2 separate regions of the Homo sapiens genome follow, and region 1 is linked to region 2. Evidence: promoter capture Hi-C in human tissues and cell types (Jung and others, 2019). All regions are on one chromosome and are shown on one strand. The core of a region is centred on a gene start or on the middle of the fragment in contact, and the rest is flanking DNA. Distances in the headings are between cores, read along the strand shown. Region 1 overlaps BICRA (BRD4 interacting chromatin remodeling complex associated protein). Region 2 holds the start of EHD2 (EH domain containing 2).

Region 1 (7,606 bases), core at 3,905-6,404, 50 kb before region 2:
GCTGGAAGTGTTTGTCAGACCCTGGGCAACTTCTAAATTAGCCTTCCTGAGCCTCAGAGAAGACTCGGTGGGACCACTTGGTCAGGGGCCTGGACCTTGACCAGGAACTGGTGGCTTGTGTTTGATACAAGAACAAGAACCCCAGAAGGAAAACTAAAGAGACAGAAGCTTCTAGGCCGGGCATGGTGGCTCATGCCTGTAATCCCAACACTTTGGGAGGCTGAGGTGGGCAGATGACTTGAGGTCAGGAGTTCGCCAGGCGTGGTGGCGAGTGCCTATAATCCCAGTTACTCCTGAGGCTAAGGCGGGAGGATTGCTTGAACCGGGGAGGCAGAGTTTGCAGTGAGCTGAAATCATGCCACTGCGCTCCAGCCTGGGTGACAGAATGAGACTTCGTCTCAAAAAAAAAAAAAAAAAAAAAAGCAGCAGCAGCTTCTAGAACAGTGGTTCGCAGAGTGTGGTCTGTGCCAGCAGCATCAGCATCACCTGGGAACTCATTAGAAATGCAGAGTCTCAGGCCGCACCGGGACCTGCCGATTCCCAGATTCTCAAATCTGTATTAGGAACCAGTGGTCTACAAACCCGTGCGCACGTCTTGGGGAACGTTTGTTTTCCCCTTTGCTTCCCTTAGCTGCATTTTTTTCCCCTGAATTCGAAGCCTGCTTCGTTGCCTGATGACGTGTGAGTCCCTGTGTCCGGTGAACATAATCATTTCTTTTGTATTTCCGCCACCCACCCCGAATGCCTGTACTTTACCCTCTCCCAGGGTTTTTCCTGTTTCTCATAAGCCAGCATTGAGAAAAATCCAAACCCTTTTGAGATACCTGGTTTTCTTGGCAAGACTGCAGCTTTATAGCTGTATTTAGAACAGCGTCGAATGGTGAAAAGGGAAAAGAGAAGATGCATAAAACATTTCTAGTTTGTAACTACCTGTATAAAATAGGCTTTTAAGAGCCAGACATCAGTCGCTTTATGAGCAATCTAAGCTTTATGGGGCCCACTTTATTTGGTTAAACTAATTCAATGATTTTAGAGATCTAAAGGTCACTAAAAATAAAGATGGTGTAGATTTTAATTGCTCTTCAAATTGCTCTTTCTCTGTCTTTCCCAACAGGGGTGGAGGTGGGTGAAGAATCAACATTTTTTTCCCTGTTTTCCTTTTCTAGCTTTAAAATAGACACATCATGCAAGCGGCTACATATCCAGGGCCCAGCCAGCTCTTACGGGGCTTTTTCATGCAATTGAAAATGGTGCTTTGTCCGAGAGGGCATGACTCTGTGGTGTGTCCTTTGTATGAATTGGGAAAGGGGACTCCTTTCTCCATGTGGATGCCACCCTTCTCTGGGGCTCATAGGTGTGAGCAGAACCTGGACTGGATTTGATGCCCCACTTGCCCCTTTGTCTGGATTCCTTTGTGCAGTGAACAACCTGTGCAGCTGTACATGGTGGTGCATACACACACACACACACACACACACACACACACACACACACACACACACGTTCTCTTCTCTTCTCTCTTTCTTTTTCTTTTTTGAGACAGGGTCTCCCTCTGTCACCCAGGCTGTGGTGCAGTGGCATGATCTTGGCTCACCACAGCCTTAGCCTCCCAGGCTCAAGCAATCCTCACACCTCAGCTTCCCAAGTAGCTGGGACCACAGGTGCACACTAGCATACCTGGCTAATTTGTAAAATTTTTTGTAGAGATGGGGTCTCACTGTGTTGCCCAGGCTACATATATATCTTCTATACTCTGTACGTATTGTATGCGTCTCTGTCTTAGAAACTTACATGTACATTAGTTTCCCATTGTCGCTGTAACAAATACCACAGATGCAGGATCTTAAAACAGAAAACTATTCTCGTATAGTTCCAGAGGCCCTAAGTCCAAAATGAGGGTGTTAGCAGGGCCACTGGGGTTGTCAGAGCTGTGCTCCCTCAGGAGGCTCTAGGGAAGAGCCTAGAGCCTTCTTCGCCTGGTCCAGCCCCCGGAGCTCTAGGTGGTCCTTGGCTCGTAGCCACGTGACATTAAGCTTTGCCTCCTTCTTCACATGGCCTTCTGTTCTTCTGTGACTTCTCCTTTGCTGTTAAGAGGACATTTATCATAGGATTTTGAGCCTACCCAGATAATCCAGGACAGTCTCATCTCAACATTGTTAATCTAATTATGTCTACAAAGACCCTTTTTTCCAAATAAGGATGGCCACATCCACAGGTTCTGGGATGTTTACATATTTTTTGTGGTGGGAGCCACCATTCAACTCACTACAAAGGCCTTGGAAATACATCCTAAGAGCTTAACTTCTAGGCGTCATAGCATGTTAAGTCCACGTACCAGGTGAACACATCACCTCATTTGTCTGTCTGACCAAGGTTCACGGGAATGACTCATTCGAGGCATTTCAGGACAACTAAAGGGATAGAGGACCTGGCCGGGTGAGTGGCAGAGGTGGGGAACCTGTTGTAGTACACCCCTGCTGTGGGGGGTGGAGGGAGAGATGGCCAGGCTGGCATCATCATGTAGTTCCCACGGGCTTAGGAGTCTCAGCTGGGTTCAAATCCTGGCTCTTGGGTGACCTTGGGCAAGTACCCAACCCTTTTTGGCCTCAGTCTCCTCATTTGTGTAATGGGCATGAGGATAATGGCATCTGCCTTATAGTGTTGCTGTGAGAATGAAATGATAAGATGAAGCACTTTGCCGGGCGTGGTGGCTCACGCCTCTAATCCCAGCACTTTGGGAGGCTGACGCGGGCAGATCACGAGGTCAAGAGATTGAGACTATCCTGGCTAACACAGTGAAACCCCGTCTCTACTAAAAATACAAAAACAAAAAATTAGCTGGGCGTGGTTGTGGCGCCTGTAGTGCCAGCTACTCAGGAGGCTGAGGCTGGAGAATGGCGTGAACCCGGGAGGCAGAGGTTGCAGTGAGCTGAAATCACGCCACTGCACACCAGCCTGGGTGACTGAGCGAGACTCCGTCTCAAAAAAAAAAAAAAAAGACGAAGTACTTAGTAAGCATTCAGCAACCTTGGCTGGGGTGACGAAGATGATGAAGTCAGAGGTGGCCGTAGCCAAGGGCTCATGGGACAGAATCTGACCCATCAAATGCCCAGACTCCCAAACACCAGGGCTCATAGCCACGTGGCCCAGGCAGAGGTTGGACTCGTAGTTGGGGCAGGTCCAGTCGGTGGCCAGCGAGGAAGGGGGTTCGCGGGGAGGAGCAGAGGCCAGAGGGAGCCGGGCCGGGGAGGAGGGCTTTCTATGGTCGTTTACACATGGCATCTCGGTGTCCAGTGTGGGGCAGGCATATAGGAGGAGCTGAGGCTGCTTGGGCAGCATTTATTTACCAATCGGTAGGTCAGCTTTTGAGTATTTTAATGGCAGGAGCAGCCAGATGTCAATAAGCCAAATGTGAACCCAGGCTTGGTGATGAGAAAATACATTTACTACATTTGGGCCAGAATAGTGGTCATGGACAGGAGGGCACTGACTGGAGAGATATGGGAGGTGGGATGGATAAAACTTGGATGAGTCAGATGTGGGGTCAAACTTGGTTCCTAAGTCCCCAGAGAGAGCTGTATCAGTGAGCTGTCACTACATAACACACAGCCCTGGCTGGGCACAGTGGCTCATGTCTGTAATCCCAGCACTTTGGGAGGTCAAGATGGGAGGATCGCTTGAGCCCAGGCATTTGAGACCTGCCTGGGCAACATAGTGGGACCCCGTCTCTGCAAAGAATTAACCAGGTGTGGTGGCGTGCGCCTATAGTCCCAGCTCTTCAGGAAACTAAGGTGGGAGGATCCCTGGAGCCCAGGAAGTCAAGGCTGCAGTGAGCTGTGATTACACCACTGCAGTCCATCCTGGCCAACAGAGCGAGACCCTGTCTCAGAAAATCAAAATAATAATAAACAGAAAAAAGAAAACCATGATCCCAACGGTTAGAATTTGGACTGGGCGTAGCTAGGTGCTTCTGGCCTGGGCTGGGTGTCTGTAGTCAGCTGTTGGACAGCTGGTGACTGCGTCTAGGGCTTGGCTGGCTGTTAGCTGGGGTGATGGGGTGATGGGCACGTGGCTCTCATCCTCTTGCAGGCCAGCCTGGGCTTCTTCACCTGGCAGCTGGGCAAAGACTGGAAGTGTGCCAGGCTCAGAATCACACACCATCGGCCAGGCTCCTTGGCTCATGCCTGTAATCCCAGCACTTTGGGAGGCCGAGGCGGGCAGATCACGAGGTCAGTTCAAGACCAGCCTGACCAACATGGTGAAACCCCGTCTCTACTAAAAATACAAAAATTAGCCGGGTGTGGTGGCACGCACCTGTAATCCCAGCTACTCAGGAGGCTGAGGCAGGAGAATCGCTTGAACCCGGGAGGTGGAGGTTGCAGTGAGCCGAGATCATGCCACTGCACTCCAGCCTGGGCAACAAGAGCAAGACTCCATCTCAAAAAAAGAATCACACACCATCACTTTCACCACATTCTGTTGGCCAAAGCAAGTCAAGAAGCCAGCCCAGGGTCAAGGGCTGAAGTCATAGACCCCACTTCTTAATAGGAGGAGCTGCAAAGAGTGTGGGACGAGGGAGGAGAATTTCTGGCCACTTTGCAATCAACCACAGTGGCCTTTGTTTCAGATCCCCTTTCCACCAGCCCTCTCACATTTTGTTTGACCTCTCTTCTTAATCAGTGACCCACAAAGAACAGCCCTTGACCCATGTGAGAGGCCTTGCCATGGGTTGCAAAGAAAATCCAGAAATGGGAGCTCTTTTTGCGTCAGGTTGTATTTGTCTGCAAATAATGGGAAACCACATAGTGGCTTAAACCATAAGGATTAACAAGTTTGGAGGCGGGCAGCCCATGAAGAGTTATGAAGAGTACAGTCAGGCCGGCGCGATGGCTCACGCCTGAAATCCCAGCACTTTGGGAGGCTGAGGCGGGTGGATCACTAGAGGTCAGGAGTTCAAGACCAGCCTGGCTAACGTGGTGAACCCTGTCTCTACTAAAAATACAAAAATTAGCCGGGTGTGGTGGCACGTGCCTCTAATCCCAGCTACTCAGGAGGCTGAGGCAGGAGTCACTTGAACCTGGGAGGCGGAGGTTGCAGTGAGTCAAGATTGCGCCACTGCACTCCAGCCTGGGTGACAGAGCGAGACTCCGTCTCAAAAGAAAAAAAAGAACACGGTCTTTTTGTCAGCTCCCATCAACCATCCTCTGCTGGTGGGCTTTTCAGCCTCAGGTTTGTTGTCCCGTGGTTGCAAAATGGCTGCCACAGCTCTAGTCATCTCAACTGTATTCAAAACTGGAAGCAGGAGCAAAAGACTGTCTTTCTGGAGAAACTCTGTCTTTGTATTCTGGAAGGAAAACTTTCCCTGAAAGTCTCACTGAGCAGAACCTGTCTGTACACTTCAGTTTTTACTATTTGCACAACTGTGGTTACTCTAACTGCAAGAAAGGCTGGGAAAGTGAGTGTCTGATAAAGGAGATAGGAATGCCTCTGGCTTAGTTCAATTATTTTAAGGCTATTTTGACCACAACTCACAGTCCAAAATATGTTTCTTTGTGTCGCAGTACACACACACACACACACACACATTATTGAAACCAATTTCTCAAATACTCACTCTTACCATGTATGATACACGTTAATGTCTTCCATTCCATTCCATTCCATGCATTTTAATTATTTAAAGCAGTTCCTGGTCACAACCTGCTAATTTGATTTCACAACCTTCAAAGGCATGACCCATAGTTTGAGAAAGACTGGCCTAGAACAGTCTTTGTTTACATCTTAGCGTTGGCAAGTGTTAACCCTGCACAGAGTCAGGCTTCTGCGAGCGGAGGAGGAGAGGTGGGGAAATGGTGTTTTGAAAAGCAACAGATAGACTTTGCCACATCATTTGCACTTCTTATCAGCAAATGATATCGTTCTGGAGACTTTGTATTACTGGCAGGCAACCTGAGGTTACTCCAATTTATATTGGGAAATTAAAATTCGCCTGTTTGTGGAGCTTAGCTGGCCCTTTTAATTCCGTATCCTGCTAGCAGCCTGGCTTCTGCACAGCTCCTGATGACAGCGCAAAACTCCGATTGCATTACAAGTGGAGGAGGAATTCACACAATTTTCTGGAAGGACACTGTGTCATTGTTGCGTCATGGCTGTTCTCTGGAGCTGGTTGTGGTTTTCAGGCCCGGCCTTTCCTGCTTTTTATAGTGTGGTGGTGAAGAGTGAGGTCTTCAGAATCACAGGGTCTGAGTTCAAATTCTGGTCCCATGGTGCGATCTGGGGCAAGTGTCCTGACCACCTCCGAGTCTCCTTTTCCTGTAAGATGTGCATCAGCAGTGCTTCCGTGGGGATGGGGAGGGATCGGTGGGTATGGAGTAAGCACAGGGGCTGGTACCCGGAAGCACTCAGGCAATGCGGGCTCTTCAGGGTGTGCCAGGCAGCTTCGGCTGTGTGATGCCACAGTGACGAGTGGGCCCGGGTCGCAGTGGTCCGTGGTGGCAGAGGCTGGCTTCTCGCTCGTGTGTGTGCCCGTGGGGGGTTGGCTGTGGCTCTGGCCACATGTCCGCCCTGTTCTGGAACTCAGGGGAACTATGTGATGGCTCTTGAAGCTTCTGCTCTGAACAGACACAGTGCGCCCACTCCATCTCATGGAAGGAGAATCTTTCCGTAGGAGCAGGCCCACTGGGTGGGGGGCAGCGGACAGATGGTTAAAAAGCCAGTGTGCCACACCAGGGCTTGTCTCCAGGGTGCTGGTGACAATTTTGGGTCCGCAACCCTGCATACTAGTTTTCAACCCCCACCCCCCCGCCCCCCCACTCTGCAACCTCAGTCACTGTTTCAAAAGTTTCTGAGTGTGGGGGGTAGGGGAGAGGTCTCCAGCACCCTCCCTGGCTGAGAACCACCAGCTGTGCTCCCCAAGCCAGGGATGGGGTCTGCCTCTGCCCTTTTGCTGTCCTCAGCACCCCCCACCAGACACACAGTAGGTGCCTACTAAATGTACATTTCAGCAGGTTGCCTCTTGAATAAATGAAAGGATTTGTTTAATTTCCTCTGCAAATTCATTCATTCATCCCACAGATATTTATTGAGCTCCTACTGTATGCCACATAATGTGCCAGCCCCAGGGATCTTGCAGAGGACAAAACAAGCAAAAGTTCCTGTCCTGGGGGACATTTCGGTAGAGGAGACACACAGTAAACAACCAAACCATCAGACGGATATATGATATTTGATGTTAAAGTTTTGGTTTTGTTTTTTTTGGGATGGGGTCTCGCTGTCTTGCCCAGGCTGGAGTGCAGTGGCACGATCACAGCTCACTGCAGCCTCGAACTCCTGGGTTCAAGCAATTCTCCTGCCTCAGTCTCCTGAGTAGCTGGGATTACCGGTGTGCAACACCATGTCTGGCTGGTTGTTTTGTTTTTTTTTAATCTTCATGTGTGTCTTGAAAGGCTTCCCCTGCCTTCTGGGTTGAGAGCAGCAAGACACCTAGCTGGCCTGGTGAGGGTGCACACAGTGCAGGTGCCGCAGCGCCCCCAAAACTGCTGTTTTCCATTGCGTTTATCTCATCTGGAAAATGGGGGTAATACCAGGGTGTTTGGAAGGATTCAAA
Region 2 (7,124 bases), core at 3,849-6,348:
TCCCTCCACGTGTGAAATAAAGCACTATAGGAAAACAGCTGTTTCTTAAAAAAAAAAAAAATTTTGGCTGGGCGGGGTGGCTCATGCCTGTAATCCCAGCACTTTGGGAGGCCGAGGCAGGCGGATCATGAGGTCAGGAGATCGAGACCATCCTAGCTAACACAGTGAAACCCCGTCTCTACTAAAAATACAAAAAAATTAGCCGGGCGTGGTGACTGGTGCCTGTAGTCCCAGCTACTCAGGAGGCTGAGGCAGGAGAATGGTGTGAACCCGGGAGGCGGAGCTTGCAGTGAGCTGAGATCCCACCACTGCACTCCAGCCTAGGTGACAGAGTGAGACTCCGTCTCAAAAAATAGATAAATAATAAATAAATAGATAATTTTTTTTGAGATGGAGTCTCACTCTGTCGCCCAGGCTGGAGTGCAGTGGCACAATCTTGGCTCACTGCAACATCCGCCTCCTGAGTTCAAGCCATTCTCCTGCCTCAGCCTCCCAAGTAGCTGGAATTACAGGCATGCGCCACCACGCCTGGCTAATTTTTTTGTACTTTTGGTAGAGACAGGGTTTCACCATATTGCCCAGGCTGGTCTTAAACTCCTGGGCTCAAGCGATCCACCCTCCTCGGCCTCCCAAAGTGCTGGGATTACAAGTGTGAGCCACTTCGCCCAGCCTAAATGGCTGTTTCTTAACATCCTTGGATCACAAAACTCTCGGAGAGACTCTCCTGAAAGACCCCTCCTGATTACTCACAAGGACTCGTCCACAATTTCCACGGGCTCCGGGACTCAGTTCTGCAAGGCTGACTGCCTGCAGGCGAGCGGAAGAACAGAACAGCAGTGACCAACCTTTACTAAACAGGGAACCGCATGGGTTAGCATATCTGGTCCTCACAGCAGCCCCAGCGTGGGAACTAATAGGCCCAGCTTGCAGGTGAGGAAACTGAGGCCCCAAAGATGTAGTACATGGCAGACTGGGCTGTGAGCCAACCTGCCTCAATGCATTCATTAGAGAGAGCTGGCTGTGGGGCCAGTGAGCGATGAGTGTATACAATCGCTGAAAATATCCACAACTGGGCTGGGTGCGGTGGCTCATGCCTGTAATCCTAGCACTTTGGGAGGCCAAGGCGGGTGAATTGCCTGAGCTCAGGAGTTCAAGACCAGCCTGGGCAACATGGTGAAACCCCGTCTCTACTAAAAAATACAAAAAATTAGCCAGGCTTGTTGGTAGGCACCTGTGGTCCCAGCTACTGGGGAGGCTGAGGCATGAGAATCGCTTTAACCTGGGAGGCAGAGGTTGCAGGGAGCTGAGATCGCACCACTGCACTCCAGCCTGGGAAAGAGTGTGAGACTCTGTTTCCAAAAAAAAAAAAGAAAAAAGAAAAAAAAATCCACAACTGCAAACCGATGAACGCATCAGTGATTCCTCTGGGTGGCGGGGACCCAGGTCCTGCTGATGACGCTGTGCTTTGCTGCTAACATTTGTGGTTGACAGAAACTCTGAATTTTAGTGAAAACTCCAGCTGTCTTTTTCCCCCCACATCTAAGTTCACAGATCCTCCGGAATTTTTTTTTTTTTTTTTTTTTTTGAGACGGAGTCTCACTCTGTCGCCCAGGCTGGAGTGCAGTGGTGCGATCTCGGCTCACTGCAAGCTCCGCCTGCCGGGTTCACGCCATTCTCCTGCCTCAGCCCCCAGAGTAGCTGGGACTATAGGCGCCCACCACCACGCCCGGCTAATTTTTTTGTATTTTTAGTAGAGACAGGGTTTCACCGTGTTAGCCAGGATGGTCTCAATCTCCTGATCTTGTGATCCGCCCGCCTCGGCCTCCCAAAGTGCTGAGATTACGGGTGTGAGCCACCGCGCCCAGCCGATCCTCCAGAATGTTTTGCAACAGGTTGAGAAGCCCTGGGGTAGAAGTGAAACAAGACTCTCCCATCAGACAACTCTGGCTCAACTCCGAGTTCTTCCACACCTTGGCAGGCCAAACTCTACTTTCTTTTTTTTTGAGACAGGGTCTTCTTCTTTCACCCAGGCTGGAATGCAGTGGCGCGATCACAGCTCACTGCAGCCTCGGCCTCCTAGGCTCCAGTAATCCTCCCACCTCAGCCTCCCGAGTAGCTGGGACCACAGGTGTGCACCACCACACTCGGCTAATTTTTAGATTTTTTTTATCTTGCAGAGATGGGGTCTCACTATGTTGCCCAGGCTGGTCTTGAACTCCTAGCCTCAAGCAATCCCCTGCCCCAGCCTCCCAAAGTGCTGGGATTACAGGCATGAGCCACTGCACCCAGCTCTGAGACTTTACTTCCTTGTATTTCAACTTTCCCATCTGAGACATAGCAATAATAATAATAATAACAATAATAACAGGACTTGCCCTCCTGGGGGAAGGGAGATGATTTAGGTGATGCTTTTGGAACAGGGCCTGTCTCCTAGCAGTAACAACATTAACGTAAGTTATCATTAAGCTCCAGACCTTTTATATATTATATATATAATAGTAATATTATAGTAACATGTTATTGGCTGGGCCTGCTGGTGCATGCCTGTAATCCCAGCTACTCGAGAGGCTGAGGCACGAGAATCGCTTGAGCCCGGGAGGCAGAGGTTGCAGTGAGCCAAGATCGCGCCACTGCACTCCAGCCTGGGTGACAGAGCAAGAGTCTACCTCCAAAAAAAATAGAAAAAATAAATAAAATGTTATAATTATAATAATATAATATATAATATCAGTTTTATTGAGATATAATTCAGAAGCCATGCAATTCACCCATTTAAAGCATACAATTCAGTTGGGCATGGTGGCTCATGCCTATAATCCCAGCACTTTGGGAAGCTGAGGTGGGTAAATCACTTGACGTCAGAAGTTCGAGACCAGCCAGGCCAACATGGTGAAACCCCTTGTCTGCTAAAAACACAAAATTAGGCCGGGCGCAGTGGCTCATGCCTATAATCCCAGCACTTTGGGAGGCCGAGGCGGGCAGATCACGAGGTCAGGAGATCGAGACCATCTTGGCTAACATGGTGAAACCCTGTCTGTACTAAAAATACAAAAAATTAGCCGGGAATGGTGGTGGGCGCCGTAATCCCAGCTACTCGGGAGGCTGGGGCAGGAGAATGGCGTGAACCCGGGAGGCGGAGCTTGCAGTGAGCCGAGATCGTGCCACTGCACTCCAGCCTGTGCGACAGAGCGAGACTCTGACTCAAAAAAACAAAACAAAACAAAATTAGCCAAGTGTGGTGGCATGCACCTGTAATCCCAGCTACTGGGGAGATTGAGGGAGGAGAATAGTTTGAACCCAGGAGGCGGAGGTTGCAGTGAGCTGAGATCGTGCCACTGCACTCCAGCCTGGGCGATAGAGTAAGACTGTCTCAAAAACAAAAACAAAAACCAAAACCCCAAAACTCCTGTTTCTTGGAGATATGATGAGGGTTCGATGAGCTAATACATGCATGCAAAGAGCTCAGAGCGGTGCCTGCACATAGGAATGGCTCAGTCAACATTAGGGATTGTTTCTACAAATGTTTACTGAGCCCCTGCAGGGAGTTGGGCATTGTGCAAAGCCCTCACGGGGCTCATGTTCTCAGGGCAAAGACAGTCCCTTAGGCAGAGAAATGTGGAATATGCAGAGTGGTTGGGAGGGCTGTGGAGAAAAATAGGGCAGTGATAAGAGGTAGAGAGTGGGTTCTACCTTAGCCAGGGTGATCCTGGAGGACTTCTCTGAGGAGGTGACATTTGAGCAGGGACCTGAAGGAGGGGAGAGAGTGAGGCATTCAGATCCCTATGGGGAAAGTACTCCATGGAGAGGAGTCAGCAAGTGCAAAGGCCATGAACTTGGAGGGTTGGGGGTGTGTCTGAGGAATGGTGAGGAGGCCACGGCGGTTGGAGCCGCCTGAGGAAGGGGGACAGGGGAGATGTAGGTGGATCATGCTAGGCTTTGTGGGCCTTGGTGTGGACTTCGGCTTTTACTCTGAGAGAGAGGAGAGCCAGGGAGGGTTGTCAGCTGAGAAGTTTCATCAACTCCCTTAAGTTTTAATATTAATATTATATTTACTTATTTATTTGCGATGGATTCTCACTCTGTCACCCAGGCTGGAGTGCAGTGGCGTGATCTTGGCTCACTGCAACCTCTGCCTCCTGGGTTCCAGTGATTCTGGAACTTGGGAGCCTCAGCCTCCCAAGTAGCTAGGACTACAGGTGCGTGCCTGCATCCAGCTAATTTTTGTTTATTTATTTATTTTTGAGATGGAGTCTTGCTCTGTCCCCAGGCTGGAGTGCAGTGGCGCAATCACTGCAAGCTCCACCTCCCCTGTGTTTAAGTGATTCTCCTGCCTCAGCTTCCCAAATAGCTGGGACTACAGGCGCCCGCCACCACGCCCAGCTAATTTTTTTGTATTTTTAGTAGAGATGGGTTTGCACCATGTTGGCCAGGCTGGTCTTGAACTCCTGACCTCAAGTGATCCACCCGCCTCGGCCTCCCAAAGTGCTGGGATTACAGGCGTGAGCCACCGCGCCCCGTCCTATTATTTTTTTTAGAGGTGAGGTCTCGCTCTGTCACCCAGGCTGGAGTGCAGTGGCACAATCATAGCTCACTGCAGCCTTGACCTCCTGGGTTCAAGCTATCCTCCCACCTCAGCTTTCCAAGTTGCTGGGATCACAGGTGTGCACCCCTGTGCCTGGCTAAATTATTTTATTATTTATTATTATTTTTAATAGACATGGGGTCTCGCTATATTGTCCAGGCTGGTCTTGGACTCCTGGCCTCAAGCAATCTTCCCACCCTGGCCTTCCAAAGTGTTAGGGTTACAGGCGTGAGCCAGGGCGCCCGACCTGTTATTGTTACTATTATTGCTGCTGCTGTTGTGATTCCCGTGTTAAGAAGAGAGACAGACTGGGGAGCAGCCCAACGCTGGAGGTGGAGGCGGAATTCGAACCCCAGGCTGGACGCTGGAGCTCTCGCCCGCCGTGCTAAGGCGTCTTCCCCACTCCCCACAAGGGGGCGCCAGAGGCCGGGCGCCCGGTTTTGAGGGGGGCGCCTCGTCCCGCCCCTCCCTCCTGTCCTCCCTCCCGTCCTCCCCGCTCCGGGCCCCACCCGGCTCAGACGGCTCCGGACGGGACCGCGAGCACAGGCCGCTCCGCGGGCGCTTCGGATCCTCGCGGGACCCCACCCTCTCCCAGCCTGCCCAGCCCGCTGCAGCCGCCAGCGCGCCCCGTCGGTGAGTGCTCCCAGCACCGCAGCTGTCGCCTCCCGACCCCCGCCCAAGCCTGCCCTGGTTCCTCATGCCTGACCCCTGCTCCCTGCCACCCTGTCCCCAGTCTGTAACGGTCTCCCCAGGTGTCCCCCAGTCTTCACCAGTCCCCCCAGTCTGTAACCATGTCCCCCACTCTTCCCACTCCTCCCACTCTTCCTCCCACTCTTCCTCCAGTCTTTCGCAGCCTCTCACACTCCCCCAGTCTCCTCCATCCTCCCCCAACACCCCTCCCTATCCCCTGGGCTAGAAGAGATCCTCTCTGCAGGGTCTCCCTCCACGCCCTCATCCATATCAGCTAACTTGGTCCCTCCAGCCACTCAAGAGCCCCTCTCCTGCCTCACCAGCTCCATCGGCCACCGCTGATAGCATTCTCCCCAGCTCTCTCTCAGGGCCCTCCCTGCCTGGGACACCGCCCAGAGCCCTCTCCCTCTGCCCACATCCCAGATCCTGCCTCTCTTTTCCATTCTTGCCACTCCTTTACGAACTCCTTTTGCTTTTATCTCCCCTACTCCCTGGCCACCCCTTTTAAGTCTCATGATTTTATGGATTTTAGCATATTTGATTTGCAGTTATTTTGATGCTCAAATTGCCCCATGTTTGGCCACTGGGCACCCCTGCAAGCTGGGTCCTCTGTCCCTGTAACATGCCCTATCGGCCTTTGAGCACTTCCTCACCTTCTGACCCAGGCTCACTTGTTCTTCCCTGCCCCCGCCCTGGAATCCACCATTTCTCTAAGGAGTCCCAGGTTCTTTTAGTGGGGAATGGTATTTAGAGACTCCCATCTCACCAAAAGTTGATTCTTTGAAAAGATCAGTAAAATCATAAGCATCAACGGGGAGCAATCGTTTTTGTTTTTCTTTTTTAAAAAAAGCAAATACCCACACCTGTGGCTGATATCGGGAATGAAAGAGGGGACATCACTACAGATCCTACGGTGAATAAAAGGCTAGTAAGGGAAGATAGAGAACACAGTCTGGGTGCTGGAGGTGCTCATTGCTCCTGGGTTGGTCATGGCTAACCTCCCTAACTCAGATCTTTAGACCTATAATAGGATTGCAACCTCTGAGGTCAGGCTGCCTGTGTTTGAGTCCCAGCTTGAGCATTTTCCAGCTAAGTGATCTTGGGTAATTTATTGCTGTCTTCCTGAGCCTCCTTTGCCTTGTTAAAAAAGCAGAGATGAGCCGGCATGGTGGCACACACCTGTAATCCCAACAATTTGGGAGGCTGAGGTGGGTGGATCACCTGAGCTCAGGAGTTCGAGACCACCCAGGGCAACATGGTGAAACCCATCTCTACTAAAAATACAAAAAAAAATTAACTGGGTGTGGTGGTGCATGCCTCTAGTCCCAACTACTTGGGAGGCTGAGGCAGGAGAATCCCTTGAGCCCCAGAGGTGAAGGCTGCAGTGAGCTGAGATTGTATCACTGCACTCCAGCTTGGGCTACAGAGTGAGACTCCATCTCCAAATAAATAAATAAATAAATAAATAAATAAATAAATAAATAAAAAGAAAGAAAAGCAAAGCAAAGCAGGGATGATAATAGACCTACTTTACAGGGTTATAAATGTTAAGTGAGTTAGTACAGTACCTGGCATGCAGTGATCATAAATGTTGCATTATTTTTCTTGTTAACACCCAACAGCCCTCATGACCTGGGTGCACCCAGGCAACCTTCTCAGCTCCATTTCTCACCCCTCCTCTTTGTGCCCCTGTGTCTGGCCACCTACCCAGATGTTTCATGGCTCCCAGTACACCAGGACCTTTCACATCCCCAGACCTTTGCACGCACCGTCCTCTCTGCCTAAATCCCCTTGTCTTGCCTGCTCTTCATGGAGCAGCTCAAAAGTCAACCCTGCCCTGAGTCTTACTGGT

Evidence for each region. The method cuts DNA at HindIII sites, captures the fragments that hold promoters and counts their contacts. A contact is called where the count stands out against the background at its distance.
Region 1: a fragment that was not itself captured here is called in contact with the fragment with the promoter of EHD2 in region 2 in 1 of the 25 tissues and cell types used here (mesendoderm cells).

The regions. Positions count from the first base shown.
Region 1 is chr19:47,658,232-47,665,837 of GRCh38, forward strand. All of the region lies in intron 1 of BICRA (BRD4 interacting chromatin remodeling complex associated protein), which reads left to right. Among named protein-coding and RNA genes, the nearest start is that of EHD2, 51 kb to the right of the region's middle. RefSeq lists enhancers at 2,621-3,122, 3,123-3,622. The HindIII fragment of the contact is 7,290 bases long and covers 1,510-7,606 here.
Region 2 is chr19:47,708,324-47,715,447 of GRCh38, forward strand. EHD2 (EH domain containing 2) reads left to right here and starts at 5,099. Exons shown (of 6, transcript NM_014601.4): 1 at 5,099-5,215. RefSeq lists a silencer at 4,976-5,075. The HindIII fragment of the contact is 24,100 bases long and covers 1-7,124 here.